Regions from separate parts of the Homo sapiens genome. Here region 2 is linked to region 1. Evidence: promoter capture Hi-C in 16 types of primary human blood cells and fetal thymus (Javierre and others, 2016). All regions are on one chromosome and are shown on one strand. Each heading gives the region's core, a stretch centred on a gene start or on the middle of the fragment in contact. The rest is flanking DNA. Distances are from core to core; before and after follow the strand shown.

Region 1 (7,307 bases), core at 4,808-7,307:
GCCAAGGCAGGTGGATTGCTTGAGCTCAGGAGTTCCAGACCAGCCTGGGCAACATGGTGAAGCCCTGTCTCTCGTCTCTACAAAATACAAAAAATTAGCCAGGAGTGGTGGTGTGCCCCTGTAGTCCCAGCTACTCAGGAGGCGGAGATGGGAGAATTGCTTGAGCCTGGAGAGATTGAGGCTGCAGTGAGCTGTGATCATGCCACTGCACCCCAGCCTGGGTGACAAAGCAAGACCCTGCCTCAAAAATAAAATAAAAAAATTTTAAATAGAAAAATTAGCCAGGCATGATGATGCACACCTATCGTCTCAGCTACTGGGGAGGCTAATGTGGGAGGATCGCTTAAGCCTGGAAGGTTGAGACTGCAGTGAGCCGAGATTGTACCACTGCACTCCAGCCTGGGCGACAGAGTGAGACCCTGTCTCAAAACAAAACAAGAAAACAAAAGTTCCAAGCTTACAGTAGGTGCTTAATAAATGTAACACACACACACACACACACACACACACACACACACACACACACACTTTTGCCTCCCAATTTGCCTTCAGGGCAGCAGAATTTCTTTGGGGTAGAGTTCTTATCTGGGGGAAGAATCTACGGCCCAACCTTGGCCCCACTTTCCTGGAGGCAGGGACTTTAGGAAGAAGCCATTAGCCTAGAGACATATTTCATACTTATGAGCACACTCACAGCTACCAACCCCCACTTGGGCAGTTCTCTGTTCCTGGAAGGCAAAGCCCTCAGCCACTTCCTGGAAGCAGAGAAGGTGGGGGCAAAGTTGCAAGGCCTGGTCTCCCTGGTTCCCGGGTTGGGGGAGGCATCTTGGTGAGTCAGGGCCGGACTTGCAGCAGGCCGGAGGCTGGGAGAATAACACAGAAACACGGAGGGTGCTGGGGCCCAGTTCTTCAGGTAGGCTGTCACTGTTGCCCACCCTTCCCCTACAGCCATCCCCACAGCCTCCTGCACCCAGAGACAGCTGGGGTGGAGGAGAGGCTGGGGCCTGAATCCCACATTTGCCCCCACTTAGCGGCTGTGTAAACTCGGGCAGGTTGCTTCACCCTCTCTAAGCCTCAGTTTCCTCATTGTAAAACCGGCAATATTGCTTAAAAAAAATCATCATGAGAATTGAATGAGTGTATGGAAGTTCCCAGACGCTGGCTTCCAGCCGGGGGTACTTTATCTGGAGGACTCTCTTCGGCGCTGCAGGCAGATGAGCAGAGGAAATGGAGGTCTCAGACTCAGAGGGTATGGAGATGGCGGCCTCTCTACCTCCCCTGTGGGTGTTTGGGCTTTGAGAAAGCAGAGACCTCCGTACCTGTTATGATAAGACCTGGTACATTCGGAAAGCCCAGACCTCCTTTCCTGGGCCCGTCTAAAGCAACCACCTTATCCTACATGTTCCTGGTGTCAGTGCTGAAAGTCCCTCAACCCCAGAAACCCCTCACTCCCAGGCAAACTGGGGGTGGGGGGTTGTTGGTCACCCCAGCCTGGTCCCTGCCATCCCACTGGCTTTAAGACACAGCAGCCTGGAGCCAGGCCACAGCTGAGCAGGCATCAGCCCATCTAACAGAAAGAAAATCTGAGGCTCAGCCAGGCACGGTGCCTCGAGCTTGTACTCCTAGCACTTTGGGAGGCCAAGGCAGGAGGATGACTTGAAGGCAGGGGTTCAAGACCAGCCTGGGCAACATACTGAGACCCATATCTACAAAAAAATTAAAAATTAGCCAGGTATGCTGGTGATGCCTGTAGTCCCAGCTACTCGGGAGGCTGAGGCCAGAGGATGGCTTGAGCCCAGGTCAAGGCTGCAGTGAGCTATGATCGCACCACTGCACTCCAGCCTGGGTGACAGAGTAAGACCCTGTCTCTAAGAAAAAAACATATTTTTTTTAATGAAAGAAAAGAAAACCCGAGGCTCTGAGAGATCTTGTCTCAGCTGAGGCCACACAGGTAGAAGGGGGAGGAGCTGAGTTTTCTCACCGTGTATGGCAGGTAGCATAATACCTCCTTAATATTTGCTACAGTAAATGTATTATACAACAATAAAAATGACATATGTGGAAGCCCCTCCCACGGAGGGATGATTTCATCCTCTCACTATCTGGTGACCTCATTCCTCCTCACCCCTGTGTTCACTGGCTCTAACGGTGCCATCACACTGATTAGCAAGCAAGGCCCGGAGCGGCGGGATCACTCCCAGGCCCCACCTTCCACCTCTCCTCTTCCTGGAAGGCCAAAAAACAGTCCCACAGAAGTGGGGCCAGGGCAGGGCTCCGACAGAGGCGTCTCCAGTGACCACGTCCTATTTGTCTCAACACTTGCCTAACAGAGTAGGTCAGAGACTGCTCGTTTGCCTCTTTCGCCCTAAAACCAGGCTGCTTCTGGCCCAGGCCCCATCTAGACCCCATATGGGCCCCATCTAGGCTGTGTGGAGGAGCAGGCTGCAGGGGGCCCAGACTCCAGCTCCAGAGAACCCGCCGTGTGGCCGCCCTGAGCTGCTCAGGAAAGATCCTCGTGGGGCTCCACGCCGCTAGGAACCTTGCACTGAGAATCCTGAAACTGGTGGTCAGAGCGGGCAGGATCTTGGAATGCTAAAATTCAAAAGACTGAGCATCTCAGGGTTTGGGTCAAGTAGTCACCAAGAGAAGGAAAGACCCCAGATAACTGAGGCACAGGCAGCAGATCTAAGTCTGGGTAGACAGGACAGGCCCTGCCCTGCCCTGCTGTGCCCTGGGAGTCACATCAAACCAGGTCAATCCCCAGCTCTGTCCCTTAGAAGCTGTGTGACCTGGGGCAACTCACCTCACCTCTCTGAGCTGTGGGTTCCTTAGCTGGAATACAAGGACAATGGTAGCACCCGCTTTTTATGGGGTTGTTGTGGGTTGAAGAGGGCCAGGGAAATGCTGAGTCCTCCCAGAAGCCTTTCCAGATTGCCCCAGGCACGATTAGTCACCTCCCGTGTTTAAATCATTTCTGCTGTTCATTTATTTTCTAAAAATGTATTCACATTGACTCCTAAACTTCCAGAAGGCAGGAACCACAGCTGTCTTGCTGATCAGGCCACAGGCCCAGGATTCAGCCGATGGGCAGGCACACACCCCTCGCAACACTCGCCCCAGTGGCTGGCAACCACTGTGGCTGTCTGCTCTGCTGCCCCCACCAGACCACAAGTTTTTGGAGGGCAGGAGCTCTCCTGGGTCTCCTGGCATCCCCAGGGGCCTCACTAAATGCCTCTGCAGAAGAGGACATGTGACTGAGGCAGGGGAACGTGCACAGAACTGCACAGCACGTGCTGTCTTCACACTTTTCACACCACATTTGCCAGCTGACACTTTGCAACCTCTTTCCGTCATCTACCTCAACTCACATCAGGGAGTCTCTGTAGACATTTTTTCCCACTTATCATCGCCCTTATGAAAGGTTTATTTATTTATTTAATTTTAGAGATAGGGTCTTTCTCTGTTGCCCAGGCTCGACTACAGTGGTGCAATCATAGCTCACTGCAGGCTTGAACTCCTGGGCTCAAGCGATCCTCCCAAGTAGCTAGGACTACAGGTGCATGCCACCAGACCCGGCTACTTTTAAATTTTTTGTAGAGATGGGTTTTCCCCATGTTGCCCAGGTTGGTCTCAAACTCCTGGGCTCAAGCAATCCATCTGCTTCAGCCTCCCAAAGTGCTGGGATTTATAGGCATGAGCCACGGTGACCAGCCCTCCTCATGAAAAGTTAATAGCACAGATATGCTGTATATCTGTTTAATGTTTGGTGGCTTGCAAACCACAGTGTTAGTTGAGATTTTTTTGTTACACCCCCCTCCCTACCCTCCACCCCACCAAGAACCAAGTTACACCTGTTGGAACCCAAACTTGCTGGCCTGATCCAGAGGCAGTAAGGTACTTGGCACAAATGAATTCAATGAGACCTACATCTGGTTAGTTGAACAACTGTCTTTAAACAGTTTTCTAAACACCCCTGTGTAGACAGACAGATTAACAAACACAGACCCCCAACACACACACACCAGCCATCTTATCTCCTTCTAGACCACTGGCCCCCACTGCCATCTTCCTGTTCAAGTTCAGCAAAGGAAGCCGAGACACAGGCCTAGGGTCACCACGAACTCCATGGGCATCCTGCAGCCAGAAGCCATGCCGCCAGAGGCAGCTGCTTCTCCCCTTCAAGCCTCAGTTTTCTCATCTGTAAAAGGGGCACTGTCCACCCTCCAAGGTTCTCGGATGATTGATTCCCCAGCTCCTCTGAATGCCCCACTCTGGGCCCAGCCTAGCAACCCAGCCCTTCCGCTCTCTGAGGTTTAACTCCCCTGGCTGCTGGCCAAGCCTGCTGAGGGAGGCATCAACCACCCAGGGCACGGCCTCGGAAGAGACTCTGGGGCTGTCTGAGGGCCTGGGAGCCACCTTCTGAGGCCCCGGCCCACTGAGGGGCCTGGCTCTGGGGGCCTCAAAGTCAGAGATGGAAAAAAAAGGAAAACAGAAGAAAGAGGAAAGAGGAAGAGAATTCCAGGCAACAGAAGCCCAGATATCGACAATATGGGGTGTGTGTGTGTGTGTGTGTGTGTGTGTGTGTGTGTGTGAATGTGTGTACAGCAGGGCACAACTGGCCCCCACCATTTCCTTTTAGTGTCCTGAAAGTATCTCAAATACAAACTAATAAGAGTATTCTAATTTTTTTTTTTTTGAGACAGGGTCTCACTCTGCCACCCGGGTTGGAGTGCAGTGGCACAATCTCGGCTTACTGCGACCTCCCCCTCCCAGGTTCAAGTGATCCTCCCACCTCAGCCTCCCAAGTAGCTGAGACCACAGGCATACACCACTACACCTAGCTAAGTTTTTGTATTTTTGGTAGAGACGAGGTTTCACCATGTTGCCCAGGTTGGTCTAGAACTCCTGAGCTCAGGCCAACCACCTGCCTCGGCCTCCCAAAGGGCTGGGATTACAGGTGTAAGCCACTGCACCCAGCCAAATATTCTAATTATTATTATTATTATTGTTTTCCCTTTTGCTAACAATAGTATCTTAATTCTAATATTTTAATAGTTTGCCACAGACAAGTGTCATTTCCTCAGTCTTATAAAAAGTGGGAAGAATGCATCTTTCTCTGAAAAGAACTTTTTTATGCGTCCATAACATGCAGCTTCAAGAGAAATCCTGCACTCCCCCTACTTTCTGGAGTCTTCCAGACCTAATCTCAGCTCTGCCCCTAAACAAATCCCTTCACCTCTCCCGACCTCAGTTTCCCATCCAGGAAAGGAGAGGATAAGATCATTTCTAGGGAAACACTCATGGTTTCTCTGATTTTCAAAATCAGAATGCCGCCAAGCCAGACGCTGCAGGCAAACTGGCCAGGGAGGGAAGTAAGTTAATGGGAGGCTGGGGCTGGTGGGTCACACCTGTAATTTCAGCACTTTGGGAGGCCAACGCAAGAGGCTTGAGGCCAGGAGTTTGAGACCAGCCTCGGCATCAAAGTGAGACCCCATCTCTAGGAAAGGTAAAAATATTAGCTGCATGCGGCGATGTGCGCCTGTAGTCCCAGCTACTCAGGAGGCTGAGGTGGGAGGATCACTTGTGCCCAGGAGTTTAAGGCTGCAGTGAGCCATGATTGTGCCACTGCACTCCAGCCTGGGTGACAGAGTAAGACCCTGTCTCAAAAAAAGAAGGAAAAAAAAAGTTGGCAGGAGCAGGATTCAGAAGAGTCACAGAATAAGGCCACAGACTCCAGGAAGACTTTAGTCTTGAGTCGGAGGAGCCTCAGTTTGCCCTCCCCAGGTGCTGCAGCTCAAGAAGGGCCTGGCGGTCCTACCCGGGCCTGCCAGCAGCTATAAGGCAGGCCCTTGGCCCATGGGGACCTCCAGCCACTCCCTGTGGTTTTGCAAGCCAGCACTTACCACCGTGCTCAGCAGAGCATGGGACAGCTGCCTCGTGGGCCCAGAAGAAGTGGCTTCTCTGCTTTAGTGACAAGGTCCCAGCCCACGCTGCCAGGCACTGCTGTGGCACCCCCTGCGGCAGTCCCGGATCCGAGCAACCCCCAATGGCTGTGTGTGGAAGGAGGAAGCGAGAATGTGGTTACTTAGGCAGGGCCATGTGACAGCCCACACCCCATTGTTTGTGACAGCTTTGGTGACAACATTGATAAAGACAGGGTGGTAGTGGGGCACCTCCTAGGTCTGACACTGTTCTTGGGTTCCCATAACTGTGAAAACACTGAGAACCAAGTAGAAGCTTTCTGGGGAGAAGTTCTTCGGTTTTGGGTGGGGCCCAAACTGAGAAAGGCCACAGCATTACTTCAGCAGCAATGGACAGTCGGGGCCAGAGGGAGCCCCCTGAAGGACAGGAGTGACCAGAGAAAAAGGAGAATGGTCTCGCTTCTTGCCCAAGATTGGTGGGGCGTGGGGAGGGGTGGGAGGTGGTCAGGGAGCAAAAAACACAAAATATGAACCTTCAAAGGGTTTGCAAATATGGTGTATTTCTTCTCGCAGGACTCAAAACACTCTCTGTAGATGCACAGCACAGGCCCTTTCAGCTGCAACCAAGAGCCTCTCTAGGGAGCTGGACTACAGATACCACAAGGGCAAGTCCTGCTTATCTTATTTCTTCATCCTAAATTTGTTCATTTGACCAACTCTGGCACTCCAGACTGCATGCCCTGAGGTCTAAAGGCCAGCAATTCTGGGCTGTGGCCCTCTGGTAGCCCTCCATCCAATGGGGAGGCCAGCGAGTAAACAATTCGGTGGAACATCATGCCACAATGACACAGCGCAGTGAGTGCCATCCTGCGGTGAGCAAGGGAGGGGCCTCTCCTTCCATCCTGGGTGGGGGAGGGAGGTTAACAGGAGGAGCTTCCAAGAAGTGGCACTTGAGATGACAAGCCAGGTGGGCATCCCAGGCAGAGAGCACAGCAGAGGCAAAGGCTGGGAGGCCTAAGAATACCCAGACACTTCCAGAAGGGAGGGAATAGGGGGGTCTCCCAGGATCTGCCCTGCGGCTTTGCACCAGGCAAGGGCTCAGGACATGCACAGAAAGATACTCATATCTTGCCTTGCACAAAGTTGTTTTTTTTTTTTTTTTTTGAGATGGAGTTTCACTCTTTTTGCCCAGGCTGGAGTGCAATGGCACAATCTCGGCTCACCGCAACCTCCGCCTCCCGGGTTCAAGCTATTCTTCTGCCTCAGCCTCCCGAGTATCTGGGATTACAGGCATGTGCCACCACCCCGGCTAATTTTGTATTTATAGTAGAGATGGGGTTTCTCCACGTTTGTCAGGCTGGTTGGTCTTGAACTCTCGACCTCAGG
Region 2 (7,307 bases), core at 1,889-4,388, 4.4 Mb after region 1:
ATGATGGAGATAAAATCGATGAGGTCCCACTCTCAGGCCTACTCTCTTTTGTTCTGGAGATTTGTCATCGTTGGGGAGATCTCCCTGAGTCATTGCCCGGTGGTATCTGTGACAAGCTCCATGGGCAGTGGGGACTGGTGGGGTCCTGCCGTGCAGAAGCAGCCTAGAAATCCTTGGCATGTTTGACCCCCCAAGGACCAGCTGATGGGGTTTGGGGAAGTTCCTATGAATCCCTGGATGACAGAACCACACGTAATAACCCCAGGCTGGTAGGATGCTCGCTTTCCCTCTAGAGCTGTGCCAACCAATATGTTAGCCACCAACCACATGTGGCTACTTAAATTTACATTAATTAAAACTAAGTAAAATGTAAAATCCAGTTCTTCAGTCTCACTAGCCACACTTCAAGTGCTCATAGCCACATGTGTCTTGTGGTACCTTGTGGGCCAGTGTAGATCCAGAACATTGCATTGTTGCAGAAAGTTCTATTACACCATGCTAGTTAGAAAGGAGGCCAGCCTTTCTAACTAGCACAGTCCAATATAAGTTTCTGCAATGATTGAACTTTCCAATAGTCCGGAACATTGCTAGGTACCCACAGAGTGCTTACCATGTCTGGAAACACAGGCGAATTCATAACAAATGGCTTATTGATGGTACAGATTAGTACATCTATGTTTCCGTAACTCCAGGCATTGACCACCATCACTGATGGTGCCAATTGTTCATGCATTCCATCATATGATTATTTATTGATCTCTGCTGTGTGTCAATTTCTGTGCTAAGCACTGGAGTACAGCAGGGAGCAAGACAAAGTCATCAGTCGAGGTCTTGTGCTGGAGGACCTACACTGAAGGTCCTGGTGTGGTCAGGGAGCAAGCAAACATATCACCACAGAGACAATCAGTGGCAGATCCGAGAGCATGAACTAAACCTGGCCCAGAGGTACTCAGGGAAGGCTAGCCTGAGAAAGTGATGTTTGAACAGAGATCTGAAGAATGAGTGAGGGTGCCAGTGTCCCAGGCAGAGGGCACAGCCAGTGCAAAGGCCCTGGGGTAGGAAGGGGCAGAGGACATTTAAGTCCGTTCTGTTTGGGATGCATCTCCCACCAAGGGGAAGATGGTGCAAGATGGCAGCTGAGCAAGGACCGGATGTACAGGCCTGGACAGCCACGCAAAGAACTTTGAATTTGATCCAGAGAGTAGAAGTCATCATTAGCTCCATGTGCCCATTCTTCCAGAGAGGCACCAAGGACCTGATGGAAGAAGGGGAAGTGTTGCACATTACCCGCCCCATTCTGTTTTCTCCTAGGGGTAGAGGGCAGGGCTGTGAGAGCAGAAGTGGGTAGGTGTCACTCCTTGCTAGGAGGTCTGGTGTTCTGCAGGTTCAGAGCTAATGCTGGGTGTAGAGATCTTCCGGGACCTAGCTGGGTTGGGTATGGGCGGCAGGGTCCTTAGAAGCAGGGACAGACTCCCCACAAGGCTGCCAAGTTGGCAACTTTACCTTTGATCCTCTTATCTTTGGGGGGACCCCCATTTCTATTCCCAGCATCCCCTTATGTTCCCGAGTCCCCAGACTTGCACACTCCCCTTTCATCAGGCCCCATTCTCTCAATAGTACCCCTTTTATGGTTCAGCCTCACTGGATCCCCCAGAAGTTCAGCTCTGGTCACTTCCCCTCTCCCTCTCTCCAGAGCTGTTCACTCCACACCTGCCCCCTGTTTGCCGGAAAAGGGAAAAAAAACACTCATTCCTAAATGGACTCCTGGGAGCCTGCCAGGAACCCCCTCCCACCCCAACCAGAGAGGGAGGAAGGCCTGGAAACCTATTGCGATTGGCAGGAGACCTCAGCTGCCTGGGAACCTGCTGGAGAGTGGGGCAAGAGGCCTCCTCACCAGATATGTGAGGGTTTTTCCCTCGCTTTACCCAGGAGCAAAACAATGTCAAGAAAGGACGTCTTGTCCTCATTGGTAACGCACTGGAAAAGAGCCTCAACCGGCAGGGAGCAGACCTGAGTGCCAACGGTGTGACCTCAGGCCTCTCCAGGTCTCAGTTTCCACATCCGTGAAATGGGTGAGAGGATCACCTCTCCAGCAGGGTTGTCGGGTTGAACAGAGAGAATCTGGCTGATTTTATCCCACAAACATCAACTAATTATCTACTGTGCATCTAGCACGTGCTCACCACTGTGGGTACAAGAGAGACAAGCAAAAGATCTTAAATCTTTTTTTTTTCTTCTTTTTTTGAGACAGTGTCTCACTCTGTCTCCCAGGCTAGAGTACAGTGGTGTGATGTCGGCTCACTGCAGCCTCTTTCCCCGGGTTCAAGTGATTCTCGTGCCTCAACCTCCCAAGTAGCTGGCATTACAGGCAAGCTACCACATACCACACCCGGCTAATTTTTGTATTTTTAGTAGAGATGGGGTTTTACCCTGTTGGCCAAGCTGGTCTTGAACTCCTGGCCTCAAGTGAGCCGCCCGCCTCGGCCTCCCAAAGTGCTGGGATTACAAGCGTGAGCCACTGTGCCTGGCTGTGAATCTTGAAAATATTATATTTCATACACACACACACACACACACACACACACACACACACACTCCAACATAATGCTGTAAAACCCAAAACTCATGTGTATGTGCTGAAATCAACACAAGCTTCTGTCTAGATTTTCTAATTGTAAAATTCTTGATATGTTCATTGAAGCTGAACTTGAACTTTGAGGGGAGACTGCCCTAGCTTTGCTAGTTTCCCAATGCAGGAGCTGGCTGATTTTTTTCTAATAGCATCAGATAATAAATCTTTTAACTTTGTGGGACCTGCAGTCTCTGTTGTAACTATTCAACTCTATCGGAGCAGAAAAGCAGCATAGACAATATGTAAGTGAATGCGTGTGGCTGTGTTCTAATCAAACTAGTTGTGGACACAGAAATTTGAATTTCATATCTTTTTCACGGGTCATGAAATATTCTTTTTTTTCCCCCAACCATTTAAAAATGTAAAAGCCATTCTTACTTCCTGAGCTGCACGATAGCAGATGGTGGGTGGATTTGGCCTGTGTGCTGCAGGTTCACTGACCCCTGCCCCACATGTTCTGAACCTGAGCATGGGGTAAGACCGTGCTGGTGCCACAGGACACCCAGCATGGCTTATCCACCCCTTGTGGTGTGTACCAAGGTACACGTGCGTGTGCGTACACACACACAGCACCAGTCTGCTCGCACAATGCCGACACACACATGCCCTGTGTATGTGCCTCCCGTGCAGTGCAGCCAGCGGAAGAAAGCCCCGGTGTCAGGCTGGGGCCACAGGGGAGAAGCCAGGCTCTGGCCCCACAGGGGCTGCGGTTTGTTCAGCCGTGCCCCCTCACCTTTCCCCTGCTGGGCTGTTTTCACTGCTCCCTGCAGGGGGTGAGGTTCCCTTTGAAGCCCTCCAGGTCCAGAGCCCAGAGTCTGGACTGGAAACTGGAGCCCCTCCACGGGGAGGCCTAATGCTGTGACCCTGAGCTGGATGATGTTAGATCAATCACGGTGGTGTCCCAGGCAGAGGGTTGGAGGGAGAGTCAGAGCTGGGCGAGGGATGGGTCGCTTGCTCGCTTCGCAGTACTGAGCCAAGTGCCCGGTTTCCCTCAAAGCTTTCTTTCTTCATTTCCCTCTGTCTCCAACCGTCCCTCCCACAGACAAAGATTGCCACATATGGGAAGCCCAAGGCCGAAGGGTATGCTCAGCTGGTGGCTGGGCTGGGCCCAGGAGCCATCAGGGTCTTGGGGTGAGGGGGTTGGCTGCCACTGGCAGTCGGGGAAAGGTTTGAGAATGGCTTTCTGCTCCCAGAGAAGAAGCCACATCTTCCCTGGGGGGTCATTTACATCCCCTGCCACTGGGACAGCCGCCTCCGAGGGCCTCACCCAGACCCTGAATTTCCCACCCAGTTCACACAGCTGGACAGAGGTGTAACTCAGCCACTTCCGCAGAAGCTCCCAGCTCGCTCCCTGGCCTCATATGACTGGAGCTGGGGAGGGGCACCTATCTGCCTGGTATCTCCCATGTCGCTCTCCATGTGCTGCTGGAGGGGTGCATGGCAGCCTCCTGCCCCTTCTGCTGATGGGATAGCTGAGGCCGAGGGATGCCAGCTGGGGACCATCCAAAGATGCCATACCCGAGGCTGCAAGCCTGGCCTTTTCTGGTGCCCCCAAGCTGGCCAACAGGCTGGAGTGGCAGGTGGTGGCTGGTTCTGGGATCTTCCAGCCTGCCTCCTTCCCTGGAAACCTTGGGCTTCACTCAGCCCTGGTCCCTGCCATGAGAGGAAGCACTATCTGAGGACACTTAGGCTGGAGACCCTTAGGCTGTTACCACCCAGATGGGAGGAGCTTTTCCCATCACCGGGGAAAACACCTCCAGAATTAGACACCAACTGGGGACAGTGAGGCCCAGAGAGGGTGAGTGACTTCCCCAAGGTCACACAGCCTACCAGTCCTAAGCTAGAGCCCAGGCCCCCCAGACAGGCCTTAGGGATAGAAAACAAGGTGACATTTAATGCCAGGGCTGAGAGAACCCCTTCCCCCTTCCCCCTTCTCCCTTGAGAGCGCTCTTGGGGCTTGTTGTCAGGGTCTAGCCCAAGGCAGGGACAGCCTGCACTACCCTGGAGGCCTCCAGGGCTCAGCTCCTGGTTACAGGACCCTTTGGGACCCTCTCTCCAGCCTCCTCACTGGAGACTAGGGCTGGGCCTGATGCCAGGGGCAAGAAAGACTATGTGTAGGGGCAGGGAGCGGCCCATCTCTGGTAGCAGCAGGTCCAGCTAATCCATATGTGGGTGCTCCCCAACCACCAGTCACGCTGTCTGTATTTCTACTATTGCAGACCCATGGTCTCTGGCTGCTTGGCTAACTCCAGAAGCCTGTTTTGAAACTAAATTCATCGCTCGTATTTGGTAGTCATTGGTGGCTTCTCAGTACCAGGTCCTGGGCTGGGTCTTGGGGACTCAGAGAGAAGGGCAAAATCCATTTCAGAGTCTAATCTATCCATTTCAGATCAGTTTCAGAGTCTAGTGAAGGTGAAGGCAAATGCATATCATGGAAATAGCCTTTGAACCCTCTGACTCATAAGGACAACAGATACAGACCTAAAACCCAGCTTGGCCCCTTGCTGGCTGTGTGACCATGGGCAAATTCCTTAACGTCTCTGAGTTTATTTCCTCCTCTGTAAAATGGGGATAAGAATAGTCCCTAGCTGGGAGGGTTGTCATGAGGACATAATGAGATACATAAATGAGATATGTAGATAAAAGCTTGGAGGATACTACTTTGCACGTAGTAAGCACTCATGCTCGAGGAAGAAAAAGATTTAAATGCCTCACTAGGCAGATGCACGGTGCCTTCAGCCATGGGATGTGCATGGTGTATGCCTGGAGCCTCTGAGAGGAGGACTTCCTGGAGGAGGAGTCCTTTGAGAGTGTGTGATTTGGGTAAATAGAATGATAGGAGGAACACTTACAGGTGGAGGAAACAGCAGGGGTCCTTCAGCAGGGTCCTGGAGGAGGGTCTCAGGCCTGGGTGGCAGAGGGAGGCTGTGATGGGAGATAGGGGATGGGTAGAGGAGGCCTCGTGGGGCCCACTGGGGCCTGGCAGGCTGGGCTGCCAGCTGCTGCCCTTTAGCAGCCAGGCCCCGGGGGACTCACAGCCACGCTGCAGGACCAGCCTCATTAATCACGGGCCCTTGGAGCTGGAGCAGGTGGGGCAGGGGCAGCCTCAGGCACTTCCTACAGTCTGTCTGGGTTCCCTTCACCCAGCCAGCGGGTGTCACCCCATTTTACACATAGTAAAGCTGAAGCTCAGAGGGTGGGGAGCCGCCTGCCGACGCTGAGAAGAGACGGGTCTGAGATCAGATCCAGGTCTGCAGCTGGGTGCGCACGGCCCTTCCCAGGCTCGCCCGGGCCACCGAGTACCTTGGACAGCACCATCAACGACCCGCCCGCGCCTTCCGGGCTGGGGGTGGGGATGCCCGGGACAGACCCCCTCGCAGCCCTCTCCCTCTCCTTCTCCTCCCCTCACCCCTTTCTCCTCCTTCTTCCCTCCCTCCTCCTCTCCAGCTTCCTCCCATCCCCCGCCTCATTCTTCCAAAGGAGCTGCGGAGTCTGACCTGGAGAGGAAGGAGGAGATGGAAGCTGTGATGGGAAGCGTGGGGGCTGGAGTAGGGGAGGTGATGCGGAAGTGACAGGTAGCGGGGCTGTGGAGGGGATGGTGAAGAAGGTGGTAAGGAGTGAAGCGTGAGGGGTTGGGAGGGGAGATGATGGAGGGTGTGATGAGAGGGTGACGAGGAGGGGCCAGGACGGGGAGGCCACGGGGAGGCCAAGGGGTTGGGGCAGGACTGGTCACAGTGGCTCCAAGTGCCCATTCAGGCAGTAGGCAATGGGGTTGAGGTCCCTAACTCTCTCTCCAGTGTGATGTTCTTGGTGCATGGGGGTGCCTGGGGTGCTCCCAGGCCTCCGCCCGCCACCTCTGTCTCTCCCTGGGCCTCCATCCTTCCACCTGGCTCTGGAATCACAACCGGTGGTAGCCAGTCCCCAGGACAGCTCCAGTCCCTTAGATAGTCACCCCCATGAGCCCACCCAGCCTCTGGGTTGACACAGACACCCCCAGCAGCCCCTAGCTGCCTCTGGCTGACATCAACTGAGGACATGGGGCCTGGAACCTGGAAACAGCTACCTCGGGGAATGCTGTTGGTGAGGGCCAGGCTCTGGGTTCCCATCCCAGCTGCTTACTAAGAATCATGGGGTGTGTAGGCCGGGTGTGGTGGCTCACATCTATAATCCCAGCACTTTGGGAGGCTAAGGTGAGTGGATCACCTGAGGTCAGGAGTTCGAGACCAGCCTGGCCAACATGGTAAAACCCCCTCTCTACTAAAAATACAAAAATTAGTGGGCATGGTGGTGGGCGCCTGTAATCCCAGCTACTCGGGAGGCCAAGGCAGGAGAATCACTTGAACCCGGGAGGTGGAGGTAGCAGTGAGCTGAGATTGAGCCATTGCACTCCAGCCTGAGTAACAGAGTGAGACTCCGTCTCAAAAAAAAAAAAAAGAATCGTAGTGGGTGGGGAGATTTGTGACCTTAAGTAAACCACACTCCCTCCCTGAGCCTCTGAGCCTCTGTTTCCTCACCTGTAATATGGACCTGATGATAGTACTGAACTTGTGTGATTGTGGTCACTATTCATTCATTCATCAGGAGTTTCATGAGCACCTACTGTGTGCCAGGCACTGTCCGGGCACTAGGAATGTCACAATCAACAGGACAGACACAGAAGCCCTCAAGGTGCTTC

Evidence for each region. Contacts are between HindIII fragments. The CHiCAGO score rates a contact against its expected background, and 5 or more counts as called.
Region 2: a contact is called between a fragment that was not itself captured here and the fragment with the promoter of SELPLG in region 1, in 1 of 17 cell types (total B cells). The highest score is 5.8, in total B cells.

Annotation. Positions count from the first base shown.
Region 1 is chr12:108,627,837-108,635,143 of GRCh38, forward strand. It overlaps SELPLG (selectin P ligand), which reads right to left and starts at 6,058. Exons shown (of 2, transcript NM_003006.4): 1 at 5,904-6,058. LOC105369968 (a long non-coding RNA gene) reads left to right here and starts at 810. Exons shown (of 3, transcript XR_007063449.1): 1 at 810-913; 2 at 6,495-7,307. RefSeq lists enhancers at 3,972-4,121, 5,530-5,579 and a silencer at 6,820-6,869. The HindIII fragment of the contact is 5,781 bases long and covers 455-6,235 here.
Region 2 is chr12:113,059,476-113,066,782 of GRCh38, forward strand. All of the region lies in intron 2 of DTX1 (deltex E3 ubiquitin ligase 1), which reads left to right. Among named protein-coding and RNA genes, the nearest start is that of DTX1, 6.4 kb to the left of the region's middle. RefSeq lists an enhancer at 5,793-6,351 and a silencer at 5,836-6,036. The HindIII fragment of the contact is 977 bases long and covers 2,651-3,627 here.